4 separate regions of the Homo sapiens genome follow, and all the other regions are linked to region 1. Evidence: promoter capture Hi-C in human tissues and cell types (Jung and others, 2019). All regions are on one chromosome and are shown on one strand. Each heading gives the region's core, a stretch centred on a gene start or on the middle of the fragment in contact. The rest is flanking DNA. Distances are from core to core; before and after follow the strand shown. Region 1 holds the start of PCP4 (Purkinje cell protein 4). Region 2 overlaps DSCAM (DS cell adhesion molecule). Region 3 overlaps DSCAM (DS cell adhesion molecule). Region 4 overlaps DSCAM (DS cell adhesion molecule).

Region 1 (3,240 bases), core at 53-2,552:
TGTGCCTCAGTGTCCTCATCTGTCAATTGGGAATAATAATGGTGCCCACTGCACGGAGTTGTTGAGAGGTTCAAAGAAGGTGACAGATGCAGAGACAGCCTGACACTGTCGGCACACAGACCATTAGGCAAGTGTTAGCTGCTGTTACAGGTACCATTGATTGTGGTGGTGGGAGAATTCCCATCTTCCACCCCACAGTTGGTCTCTCCCTGCCTCAAACCCCTGGCTTTGTCCTAAACCCCATTTCTAAGTTTTATAGTGCTTTGCTCTTCTTCTTGTCATGTTTACATCAAAAATCACCCATCAGAGAGATAAAAGCAGGGAGGAGGCATTTTATTTCTGAAGTTGTTAATTTTATCCTAGACTTCCAAGAAAAGAATCATCCATCTGTCAAAAAGAGACAGAGAAGATAAAAGATCTTTAAAAGTAATTATTTAAGTGCCAACCAAGAGGAAATGAAGATGCATTTGGCTCGGTTATTGAGTTGAATTAGAGAATGGTGTTGTACCACCGCTAATCTGCTTCATAGATGAGAAAAAAGGAGAAGATGATTTTAGAAAAACAAACGTGCTGTCAGTTGGCCCCAGTAAAACACATTCTGTATAAACAAGTTTAGAGAAGTGACTTTGGATTTGCAAAATTGTAGCTCTTCTTCTGCCGGGGCCGCCTCCGGTCTTAGAGCCACAGATCTATACACACGGATGTTTCCCAGTTCCTACTACTTTTTGCATTTCTTTCCCTGGTGCTCTGATTAACTGCAGAGGTAGTTTGTACAACTGAGCCATGAAATGCCACCCAACGGCCAGCCCTTTCCCCACCTTGTCCCCTTCCCTTCCATGGCTTGCATTCACCAGATGACCACCTGCCCACTCACATTCTGAAAGGTATCACCGCGGGAATCATGCAAAGACACGCATCTTCGTAAGAGAATAAAACATTTGGCTTTCTCTTCTGAGCTCTAAAACCCAAAGCACTTTTCAAAGTCACCATTCAATCAGAAAGCAAACCTTTCTCCTCCTCAGGCTAATTGTAGAAGTTGCAAACTTAACCAATTTCTGCACTTACCATTCAAACCAAGAGATTAATCCTGTCAGTTCTCCAAGCAAATAATTACAGGATTAATTTGTTCCTCAGCACTGCTAAGTCCCTCACATTTCCTGAGACTAATCCTTCAGCCGAGGTCCCTTCTCACTCCTAAGTTTCCCTCTCCAGGTCGAAGCATCACTCACCTCACTCATGTTGGCTCTAACTCAACAGCTCAGTCCCGCCGCTCAGCACAGAGAACACTGCTCAGGGGTCGCTGCTCCACCGGTTCTGGCTTTTCTCTTAAAAAGAGCTGCCCGGTGGCATCATGCCTCCCTGGAGCCAATGAGATGCATTCACCTGTCTGCAAGCCTGGCCGACATCTGAGAGCACCAGGGGCCACCTAGTGGTGCAAAAGAGAACGGCACGTTAGGTCGCTGCTCCAAATTCCGCCAGGATGGAAGGAAATGCTCGATTTCTTTAAAAAGTAATACACTCCAGCCTGGGCAGCAGAACGAGACCCTGTCTCTTTTAAAAAAAAAAAAAAAGTAAAAAGTAAAAGCTAAAGTTTCAAAGATCATCACAGGGATGCCATTGTGCGTTTTTCAATGAGTGCAAGATTTACATGCATGTAAAATACCTTTCAAATGTCAATGGGAAGGATTGTTTTTCTAAGGGAAGAGGAGCTCTGAAAATACCTGCGTGCCCGCTCACGCACTTTCAGGTTTTCCCAGGAGCTGTGTTTCCCTTGCCCTTTATAACACAAAACTCAGCCCAAGGACTTTAATATCTCTGCTGTCTCTCCCCTATCCCATATCTGTCGCCCTGCTTGTACCCTGAGCTGGAAGGATAAGAGTAGATGGACTGGGACATGGGAATGGGTCCCCACGACCTCAACAAAGGAGGCGAGCGGCTCCAGCAGCCTTGCTGATGTGCCCTCCTCACAACCACAGTGGGGCCAGGAAGGAGCCTGGGCATTGGCCCTGGCCTGGTTGAAGGTCTCCTTGCCTTAGTCCTGTTCAGCTTTTCCGGGAAGAGGTTCCATCCTTTGTTCAGTCCCAACATCGTGAGGCTCTGAAGAGTCTTCAAGGCATCAGAGTGGGCCCTCAACTGTCCCAAAAAAGCGTTGTGCAGACTGAAGGCACATTCACATCTGTTACTCTGCCAGTCCCGGTACAGGACTGAGAGGGTCTGGCGAGAAGATTGAAGCGTCTTGCCACCCGTCCCCAGCACCCCTCATCTCCCTGTGCAGAGCAGGCCACCAGACTCCAGCCCATCAACCCTCTCTCCTCAGCTCAGCAGCCCCACGCCCTCTGACCTGGACTGCCCTCCTTACATGCCCAGGTCACCGATGCGACCACATCCTCAGGTCCACCTTGGACAGCAAGCAGAAGGCCATGCGCCCCCAAATGGGCACCGGCGAGCACAGGCTGCCCTCAGAGGCCTTGGCCAGGAGCACCAGCTGGTCAGCACCCTCGCCCACAGCGTGGGAACACCAGCCAGCAAGACAGAGTCTCATACATGAGTTATTATAAAATAACCTATATTTCACAGAGCGACAGAAATGAACATTATATATATTATATAAAATATGTGTGTTATATTCGTTTCTTTTATATGTATATAAATTATTTATTTACATATCCTGACCACACAAATCATTTGCAAACTAATGAAGACAGCATCCTCCTTCTCTCACTCCCCTCCTCCTCCTTGCCCCCAATGCCACGCTTGGGAAGGCCCACGTGGGATGCCTTTAGGGTTGCCCAGGTGGTTAGTAGTGGGAGAGAAGGAGGAGGAGGGCAGGGTGAGGAACTGGAGCCATAGTGTCATCTGCGATGTAGGACAGATTGACAGATTGGAAGAAGGGTGCTTGCTTATCTATACTAGGAGACACCTGTGATTTCTCAGGGGCAAAAACCACACCCTCCCCAGGGGCCTCCTGCCCTGTTGGGGGCTGGACCCCCACAGCCTGGAGGTGTAGAAGGGGTCTCCCAGTGTGAGCCTCCATGGGGTCCCTGCTGTGGTCCTCCAGGCTGTGCAGAGGGCATGTGGAGAATCAGCCTGTGCTCTGCTGGCTGGCTCTGGAGCAGACCTGCATTTTCTAACAACACAAAGACACATCAAGGGCTGCAGCAGCCTGAGGTTGGCAGCACAGCAATTAGTGCTGAGGCTCCAAGTAGAGGGGCAGGATTGGAGGTGCAGGGCTGGGCTGAG
Region 2 (3,436 bases), core at 829-3,328, 230 kb before region 1:
CACCTGGGCTAATTGGATGGTGCTTCTAATTCTAAACAATTACATCAAGAAACTAGTTTTTCTCATGCCTTCTCTGGATATCAACTTTAATATAGTTGCAAAACATTATAGCAATAACTTTTATATTTGGAAGGCCAAAAATAAAATATTTTATATTTGAAAGGCTTTTTAAAAGTAGCCAATAGTCTATGTATATAATTATATATATAGTCTACATATAGTCATATATATAGACATATATATAATGGTATCTATAGTCATATATATATATATGGTCATATATAAAATATTTTATATTTGAAAGGCTTTTTAAAAGTAGCCAATAGTCTATGTATATAGTTATATACATAGTCTATATATAGTCATATATATAGTCATATATGTAATGGTATCTACAGTAATCTCAGTGAAAGGCAGAGGAAACTACCAGAATTGCCTGGCTGTTATCCCATTTCTACCAATGTTGGCCTCTCAACCTATGCCTTTAGGAAGATCTTTCTGCCATGACATCTTCTTTTATAGATGGGAACTGTGAAATAAAATGGAAATTAGATCAAAATATATTATACATAAGAATTTTAAAAATCTTAAATTAATGCAGTGAACTGCTAATTCTTAATGGAATCCAGGCCATTTCTTTGCCACTAAACAAGAAGATGTTAAGCATTCTAAAAGTTCCCTTACCCTATAATTAAAAGAGCTATCAATTTTGTTTATTGCTTGGGGGAGTTTTTTTTTCACTGCTGTGGACATTCTATCTATGAAATCACAGCCTTCAAGTTTTTTTAATTGCATGTTAACAATTAGCTATCAGAGCTTTTTAAAACATCACATTTCCTTATAGAATTAGTTTTTCATTAAAAAGTTAATTGAAATTTTTAAAAGTAGAATTCCTTTTATATCAGACAGGCTGAATAGTTTGACATGAACAGCCTATGGCTTTGTAGTCATTTTATCCTCATTATTTCCTATCGTACTCAAATCATTTCTAGGTCATTACTAAACTCACCTAGTACAACAAGAATTTCTTCAGTGTATTCCAGTTACTGGTCATTGAGTCCCAGCTCTAAGCAATGCTCTGAACCAGGTTCCCTGCAGAGTGAGTAGAGGGATGGGTGAGTAAAAGGAGTAGAGGGATGGGTCGGGGAGCCTGACCCCTGGGGAGATGCAGTAAGCACATGCAAGACCATAACCCACAGTGGAATAAAGGCAAAGGCTATGAAAGACAAAGGGCAGACTTAGCCCCTGATTGAGAGGACTAGAGAAGGCTCTGCAAGGTCTTACAAGTGCAGCTACAAGCTAAGTAATGTGAGGGGTTCGGAAATGAATTTGGCAATTATTGGGTAAACGTCTAGTTTTATAGACATGACCAAAGAGTGTTTAAAGTGCCTCACTGTGGCTAATTATATCTTATTTACTGGTCAAAAGCATCTTACACATGAAAAGAAAAATATTATATCAACACCACAAGGCAACAATAATTGTGGAATGAAGGCAGGTCTAGAAGACGCTGTTCCCAGGCTTTCCATGAGTTGACCCTGAAGCACTAGGAGAAAACTAACTTCCTCACAACCCTTACACTCTTTTGACTGGAAGAGTAAACTGTGCACATTTAGTTCCTTAGGAACCCACGACTCTACCCAGCAGACCTAAAGCAGTAACATACAAAGACAAAACGCTTGAAATGTGAACGCTCTGGCTTGGGTGTCACAAGATTTATCCCATTTACTGTATTTTCCACTCTGGATACGGCTTTGGGGAGGCAAACATGTCAGAAGTCTTGTAAAACCTTGCTATAAATATTTTTTAAAACAAATATATGAAGTTTCCATTTATTTTTTAGGCATCTTATAAATATTCATCCATGTCTTCAACTATGACAGGGTTGGTTTTAGAGAAAGGTTCAAACGAGTTTATATCTAAATTTTAGTAGGAATTGGTCAGACTTCTATGGTGCCTCATTTTAAATTAATCTGTTTGCCAAGCTGTGGTCACTTCTTGCTCCCCGGGGGCAGGAACTTGCCTTATAATCTACACACTGCAACTGAACTCAGTAAATGACCATTAATTGAAACTCAGTAATTATTTACAAGCCCTTCCTATTACGAGGCATGAAGCTAAGAACTTTTGCCTAGATTTTCTTCCCACAGCCCAAAGGAGAGAACGATAGTCCAACAAGCTTCTATGTCTGGCTCATGGGGTCCTATAACTCTCGCCAACATCCCTTATCCACAGACCTCCATACTTTGAAGGCAGCAGTGTCTGCCTGGACCCCCCCCCACCACCTCCCACAGTAAAAACCATGACCAGCCCACTGTAAGAATAGTATTTGAGATGGTTCATTACATAAGCAACATGCATATTTTACATTTTATGTGTGTGTCCTCAGACCAAATACCCAAATCTTCCCCTAAGAACACTGTGGATTGCCCCTGTTACATGACATCGGTAGAGCAGGATTCCCCAACCCCCGGGCTACGGACTAATACTAGGGACCTATACTGCATGCTTCTTATGGGAATCCAACTAATGCCTGATGATCTGAGGTGAAACAGTTTCATCCCAAGACCATCCCATCCTACCACGTCCATCCATCTGTGAAAAAAAAAACTGTCTTCCACGAAATCTGTCCCTGATGCCAAAAAGGCTGGGGACCGCTGAGCCAGAGAGAGCCCTGTTCTTCTCATGCCACCATGTTATCTGGTGGACCAAGAAATCAGTAACTTGGCAGCCACTTAGAGCCTTTCAATTGAGAAGTGATTAATTAATAATAAATGTTGGCTTGCTTCTCAACTTGGATAGAGCCTACATGTTTAAACACATTTTAGATGAGAAATAACAGGCTTTTTCCTCAGCTAGCCAAGAGGAATATATGACAGATGCAAAATAATTGGCAACCCCAGTCCACAAATGTCCCATCCACTTCCTCAAGCTGGGCATAGACAGAGCAGGATTAAAAATAAGCCATGGAAGGGAATCCCTGGCATTCTGGTTCAGGGACATGGGGGATGGGATCCCTCAAGTCCATGCCTGGCGGCAACTTCGTAATGTTGGCTGTTTCTGTATTTCCACAGGTCACAAAGGAACTCTTATGTCTTCTCTTCAAACAAATGGTTAGCACAATTACTGTAGTCCACTCAAAATTAATTCACACTTTAGGCATAACAAAATCTAGGATGACTGACACGTCTGTCTTAACTCTAAAGAAGATGAGACTGGAGAGTTCAAAGTCTACCTGAAGAAAATGAAATATTTAAATATTAAGAAAAGTGTCTCTGTTGCTTCCCCACAGATTTCTCCTTTTGCCACATTTGGTTCATTAATCCCTAAGAAACTCCATTGTGAGTTTGCCCTTCTTTATACCGCAGTGTTTATCTGTTGTCCTTGATAGCGAAGCTTTGCTTTGTTTCTTTAAAAAAAAAAAAAAAAAAGATTC
Region 3 (3,497 bases), core at 147-2,646, 180 kb before region 1:
ATCCAGAGTTCAAATCAATGTTAGCTTAATGAAAAGCCAAGCCCAAAGAGAAAAGAGAGCTCCTTCTCTGCATAGTCATGGTTCTTCTTAGCTCATTGCTCCCAAAGCCAACCCCTAGGAAGAAGCTTCTATTCCTAGCACTCTAGAGTAATGCTAATTCAGTGCTTGAATTTTCAATCATTTTTGTCACTTTAGATGGGGCTATTATTGTGGTTGTCATTAACAATAACACAAGTGCCTCAGGAGAGAAAAGGCCAGGGAGTGGTTGGAAGGGAGATAAACGTGTTTGGCTTTCTGTGTTCCTGCCATCCTGTAGATGATCGCTCCACGGTTCTGTTGACGGATGCTGACTTTGGAGAGGCAGCTAAGCAGAAGTCCCTGACGGTCACTCACACGGTCCATTACCAATCGGTGTCTCAGGCCACTGGGCCCTTAGTGGATGTTTCAGACGCTCGGCCGGGAACGAGTGAGTGGTCAACAATGCTTAAAATGTGTGGGTGTTAACAATGCTGAAAACATAGTAATGTTCTTTCTCTCTCAAATGAAAATGTGTGGCTTTTCATACCTATGCCTGAGAAACAAATGGGTATAATAACATCCCTAATTGGGATAATGAGCTGTTATTGATGGATCTTGGCTATTATTATGTCAGTTGAATTACTGTTAGTATTGGTTACTATAAAAAGTGCTAGAAATTTCAGGTACATGTATTTATTTTTTTAATTTAAGCAACACAGAAAAGGAAAAAAGTAATCTACTTTAGTGTGTATCTGCTGTATGCCAGTATTGGGATAGAACGATGATGTCATGCACGTTATCTTTGCAACAATCCTGTAAGATACCTACTCGTGAAGCAGGTATCATAGCCTCTATTCTGCAGATGAGAAAACTGCAGCCTCAGATAAATTATGCAAACAGTATAAAGTTGCACACATAAGTAGTAAAACCAAGATTCAGAAACAGACCCATCTATCCCCAAAGCTTATGCTTTTGCCCCTGAACACACTGTTTGAGAAAAATTATAATTCTAGTTAATGTGAAGATTATGTTGGATTTTGTTATTAATATTTGCATCCATAATATATGGAAATTAATTACTGCAATGAAGGTGAATCCCCTAATATGTATCTAGAGCTTATTAATTAGATACTCTTATTTCTTCATAATTGGAATCGTTCCTAAATCTCTTTAAAGACTGAGAAATTGATGTCCTGATTATTATCATTTTGGAAACTTTGACGTCTAGCTTTCAAATCTCTAATCAATTTCTTTGCAAAAATTTACATTCTTAGAATAGTGTGTTATTATTAGAAAAATAACTATTATAATGTTAAAAGCTATTCTTCATAAATCCTAGCTTGGGAAGCATTTGCGAAATGCAGTGAGCTTTATGAAGTAAACCCATTGCCTACGAAATAACATTGTAATATACAGAAAACAGTTTCAGCAGGCATTGAAATTCATTTAAAAAATGTTTTCAAGAATATTCTACATTCTAAAGAAGTCTTTTACCTCTTCCTTTTGTCTAATCTTCTTACCGCCTTTCTTCTTTGATCACATTAATACATTCTGAAGACATAAACGGGATATGAGTGGGAATTAGCTTTGCAAAGGGGTGTGTGCCAGAGCCTTGCTCTTAAAAAATGATCCAGACTGGGCGCAGTGGCTCAATCCCAGCACTTTGGGAGGCCGAGGCGGTCGGATCACGAGGTCAGGAGATTGAGACCATCCTGGCTAACATGGTGAAACCTCGTCTCTACTAAAAATAAGAAAAATTAGCCGGCCTGGTGGCGGGCACCTGTAGTCCCAGCTACTCAGAAGGCCGAGGCAGGAGAATGGCGTGAACCTGGGAGGCAGAGCTTGCAGTGAGCTGAGATCACGCCACTGCACTCCAGCCTGGACGACAGAGCGAGACTCTGTCTCCAAAAAAAAAAAAGATTCAAGGGCTTTGACATCTCTTCAGCCGTTGGCTTCTCCCTTGTGAACTGCCTGGTGTGGCTTGCTGCTACTCCAAGACACTGCTCCAATGGGTTTAAGAGCCACTTTTTTGCTGCTAAATCAGAAAAAGTTACAGATATTGAAAGGATTAGATTTTTAGAGTGATGCAGCATTGGCTTCAGCATTCTGTTGGAAACGGTGGCAGAAGAGCAGGCAAAAGAGACAACAGAGCAGATGCCCTGGGTCTCGTTCTCCACCTTTACATGCATCAGAATCACCTGGTGCCTATTTAAATATCAATTCCAGGCCTCCACCCAGAGATTCTGGCCTAGGAATCCGCATGGTAACAGACACCCTGGGTGATTCTGATGCTGGCCGTTTGGACCCCACATTGAGAAACACTGCCCCAAGGGTTAGAAATGTTTCCTGCATGTAACGCAGCAGGGCAGGACCCCTCCGGCACATCAGTTCTTCCTGCCAGGTAAAAAGCAACATGCATTTCTGCTTCCCTGTCAATGGTCAGCTAGCAGCCGAGAATGCATAAAGCTAGTCATAAATAGTTAAGACAGGAGAAGCAGCAGCCCAAAACAAAAGCACTGGCAACCTTCCAGCTTCATGGTCAGCCCCAGAATAATGGGGAAGTTGATTTGTTGGCATGTAAAATATCAACAGAGACATGAACCGGAGTCACAGCAGATACTGTAAACCAGTGGTCAGCGAGTGCCAGGCAGGACGCACATGGGAGGGACGTGTGTGTATCTCATGGCTATAAAGTTGGAAGCAGGGCTGGGAATGTTAATGCGTTCATTCAGCACTCAAAAGTATTTATTCAGGTTTCACTTTACGTATATGGCTCAGTGCTGTATGATGGAGATACACCATGAGTAAGATGCAAAAAGACATTCATTTCATCCTAGTCAGGGGGCAGACATTAGACATGGAACTAAAGTAGTTTTCATTTCTCAGTAAGTCCTAGACAGAAAGAGAATGAAGCCATGGTGAGTCAGCGGGCGTGTGGAGCAGTGGGAGGGGCTCTCTTGGGTCCAAGTCATTCAGGAGGACTTCCAGTGAGGGGAAGACATGAAACAAGATCAGAGTCACAGCAGGAGCAGAGGGGGCAGCAGGGAAAAGCTCCCAAGGTTCCCCGCATGATGAGGATGGAAGTGGCACTGGAGCACAGTGAAAGGCAGGGAAAAGGTGAGACAGAGAAACAGCTGTCCTCATCTTTCAGGGTCCCCTAAGCCAGTGCCTGGCAGGTGCATTTCATTCTGAGAGTGCTGAGATGCTGTCCCTGGGGCTTAGCCTGATGATCACAGGGAAACACTATAGCTTATAGAACAATGTTTCTGTCCTTTGTGCTGAATTTCACTAAATGATGTTTACCAACATCAAGCAAATCTACTCAAATGCATGCATCAGTCTCTGGTTCCCCCCTCACTCTCCAAATTGAGCGTATTAATTTAGCATTTGCAGAACCCTCTGTATTAGTAAAAGATCTGCTGGATCATTTTTTTCATTAAATCTTCCTCAAAAACCACAGTGTGAGGGACTGACAACAC
Region 4 (3,265 bases), core at 48-2,547, 200 kb before region 1:
CACTATACACCATCCTGCCTTAGTCTCTCAATAGCCATGCAAAATGGTTGAGTATGAACTGCCCATTATGATGCCCCAATTTTCTTTCTTTTCTTTTTCTTTTTTTTTTTTTTCTGAGACAGAGTTTTGCTCTTTTTGCCCAGGCTGGAGTGCAATGGTATGATCTCAGCTCACCACAACCTCCACCTCCTGGGTTCAAGCGACTCTCCTGCCTCAGCCTCCCAAGTAGCTGGGATTGTGGGCATGCACCACCATGCCCGGCTAATTTTGTATTTTTAGTAGAGACGGGGTTTCTCCAAGTTGGTCAGGCTGGTCTCGAACTCACAACCTCAGGTGATCCGCCTGCCTCAGCCTCCCAAAGTGCTGGGATTATAGGCATGAGCCACTGCGTCCAGCCATCATACCCCATTTTCTGACGTGAAAACTGAAGGCCAGCTATAGAATTATCCAGAATCACATATGAGTCCAGGCAGAGCTAGAAGAGAGTTCAGATCAATCTCCCTACCCTACTCCTCTTGCCATGAAACTTCTGCAGGATTTTGAATATTCAAGTAAGAAACAGGTTGTCTCATCAATATTAAGTAAGCTCTAAAGGTTTATCAATTATACCTGGAATTAGAAGATGTATTAACACAGTATCAATAGCTACTATATAATTTTATGTTTGCCCATCAAAAATACTTGGTCTATTGATTTTGTATTTCGATATTCACTACCCTTCAGCCTTCCCCTAATTATATTTTAAATATGTATATATTATATACAGAGAGAGGCACATATACATATTCCTTCTAGCTTGCATATCTTCATCCTACTGTCTCTCTGATTCTTTTCTCCACTGAATACTTGAGAGTATTCTGTCCTCAGCTACACTACCTCTCAATTACTCCCAAATTCCCACAGTCCCCTTCCACTCGCCACCCAAATGTAACTGTTCTCCTGAAGACAGATGACCAGTTATTCTCTGATCTCCAAATTATCCTTTCAGCCATCATTTTTTAGCCCTCTTTGCAGCATTCAGAGTGTTAGCAAATGTTGTCTTTTGAAATTCCTTCCTTCCACATTTTAATATCACTAGATTATCCTGGTATCATTTCTCCATCATTTCCCAGCCCAACAGATAAGGGAGGAGCCCAGAGCCAAGGATGGAAGTGTGGGAGTAGCAAGCGGCTTTAGAAAAGATGTCGCGAAGTCTGAATCTCAGGCTGATCTGAAATGTGTGGGAAAAAATGTGACAGGCAATGCAAGGGCTGTTTAGCTGTGTTTGGGCAAGAAGAACAAGGCTGTGAACAATGTTCTCATATTAACAGATGGCAGGTAGACAGGAGAGCTGCTCAGCATCTGCTTTGCTTGATGTGTACCAGGAGAAATGCTATTTGAATCAGAAAACGTGGACCAGGAATTATAAAAAGAAGGAAGGAAGGAAGGGAGGGAGGGAGGGAGGGAGGGAGGGAGGGAATGAGGGGAGGGAGGGAATGAGGGGAGGGGAGGGGAGGGGAAGGGAGAAACTCAGGATGCTTATGAAAATAATCAGCACCCTGATAGTTTAAAAGGATTTATTTTTTTTCAAAACATACTCTGTATTAGCCATTATGTGGAGGTGGAGATGTTGCTTTTTGCAGACAATGTTTACAAAGAACTATTACACAAGTTCCAAAGCGTAAGCAGCCTAATGCAGACAGAATAAATGCTGTGCTGTTTCACTGAAAGGAAAGATCTCCACCACTTAAAAAATTAGGGAAGCTGTCATGGGGTTCCAGTCCCATGATTCTGAAGGATAACATTTTAGGGTTCTGAACAAAATTTTTCCAGACATAACCCCAAGATCTTTCTGGATAACCTTTGAACAATCAAATGTAAATTAGAGGTGTTAGAAAATGATTATGCAGATGGTCCCTGACTTACTATGGTTCAACTTAGGAGTTTTTGACTTTGCAATGGTGCAAAAATGATATGCATTCAGTAGAAACTGTATTTTGAATTTTGATCTTTGTCTGGGTTAGTGATATGTGATCCATTATTTTTACATGAGATACTCAACACCTTATTATAAAATAAGCTCTGTGTTAGATAGTTTTGCCCAACTGTAGGGTAGGGTAAATGTTCTGAGCACGTTGAAGATAGGCTAGGCTAAGCCCTGATGTTTGGTAGGTCAGGCATATTAAATGCATTTTTGACTTAATTATATTTTCAATTGATGATGGGTTCATCAGGAGGTAATCGTAAGTCAAAGAGCATCTAGACCCTGGACCCATTTTCAACAACAATAGATTAATTCTGGACATTATAGACTGAAATAAGTTAGTTGAGGTTATAGAAAGGATGTTTTGTGAGCAATCAGGGAAGGGAAGGGACCACCAGGGGCCCAGACAAACTCCATTTGCATTTTGACAGGGCTGATTAATAAGGGTACACCAGGATGTAGCTGAAAGCATGGGCAGGCTAATCCAATCTTGGAGGCCACATACATCCTGGTGGGGAAGCTAATGTATTAGAGGGACAAATCCACATTTTAAGAGATTTTGAAAGGCTGGAAGCAAGAAGATACAGTTTAATAGGAATAATTGTGAAGTCTTCTATAGAAGTTGTAAAAAAAAATTCATTTGCAACACGTATAATGAGCATTGTGCTCTCCCTAGTGTGCTAGAAGATCAAGAATTACCAGCGTCTTTCTCAGCCTCATTTTATAGAGAAATAAAAAAATCACAAACCTTTCAAAGAAGAGATTCCCAAGTAGGGAATTACCTAGAAATCATTCCGTATGAGGAGTGGCTGAGAAAATTAGAGAATGTAACCCAGAAAAGAGAAAGCTGAGGCCAAGCAAGGGAAATGCAGCTACATGGAAATATCTGAACAGCTGGCAAATGACTTCAGGTTAAAATTACATCAAGGAATTTCTGCACAAGAAAAGGAAGATGTCTCTCACAATTAAATGTGTCCTCAGGAAATCTTTGTGCAGCTTCACTATGGATCAGGGACAGGACTGTGCCCAAAAGGGCCAAGAGAAAGACAACCCGAAAACAGGTGGGCACAGTATGAGCTGGGAAGGGCTGTCTGAGATATAAGGCAGAGGTCCAGGGAAGCGGAGGGAACCGAAGCTTCACCCCTGCCTACTGGGCATGGGAGGGTACACGGAGCAAGTTGCGTCTGCATGGGGCGGTGGGGACGATGGAGGGCTTTGCACTAGCAAAGTCTTGGGCTCTCTGCAGAAAGTGGCAAGTGCAGGAAACTCAGAGAGAGGTTGGAGGTTACAAGTGAGCGGCAG

What was found. The method cuts DNA at HindIII sites, captures the fragments that hold promoters and counts their contacts. A contact is called where the count stands out against the background at its distance.
Region 2: a contact is called between a fragment that was not itself captured here and the fragment with the promoter of PCP4 in region 1, in 1 of the 25 tissues and cell types used here (spleen).
Region 3: a contact is called between a fragment that was not itself captured here and the fragment with the promoter of PCP4 in region 1, in 2 of the 25 tissues and cell types used here (dorsolateral prefrontal cortex and pancreas).
Region 4: a fragment that was not itself captured here is called in contact with the fragment with the promoter of PCP4 in region 1 in 1 of the 25 tissues and cell types used here (dorsolateral prefrontal cortex).

What each region holds. Positions count from the first base shown.
Region 1 is chr21:39,865,500-39,868,739 of GRCh38, reverse strand. It overlaps PCP4 (Purkinje cell protein 4), which reads right to left and starts at 1,302. Exons shown (of 3, transcript NM_006198.3): 1 at 1,230-1,302. The coding sequence starts at 1,238. The HindIII fragment of the contact is 8,471 bases long and covers 1-3,240 here.
Region 2 is chr21:40,100,631-40,104,066 of GRCh38, reverse strand. All of the region lies in intron 20 of DSCAM (DS cell adhesion molecule), which reads left to right. Among named protein-coding and RNA genes, the nearest start is that of MIR4760, 110 kb to the left of the region's middle. RefSeq lists an enhancer at 947-1,448. The HindIII fragment of the contact is 4,253 bases long and covers 1-3,436 here.
Region 3 is chr21:40,048,927-40,052,423 of GRCh38, reverse strand. It overlaps DSCAM (DS cell adhesion molecule), which reads left to right. Exons shown (of 33, transcript NM_001389.5): 30 at 317-466. Among named protein-coding and RNA genes, the nearest start is that of MIR4760, 160 kb to the left of the region's middle. The HindIII fragment of the contact is 3,097 bases long and covers 1-2,944 here.
Region 4 is chr21:40,065,936-40,069,200 of GRCh38, reverse strand. All of the region lies in intron 27 of DSCAM (DS cell adhesion molecule), which reads left to right. Among named protein-coding and RNA genes, the nearest start is that of MIR4760, 140 kb to the left of the region's middle. The HindIII fragment of the contact is 4,719 bases long and covers 1-3,265 here.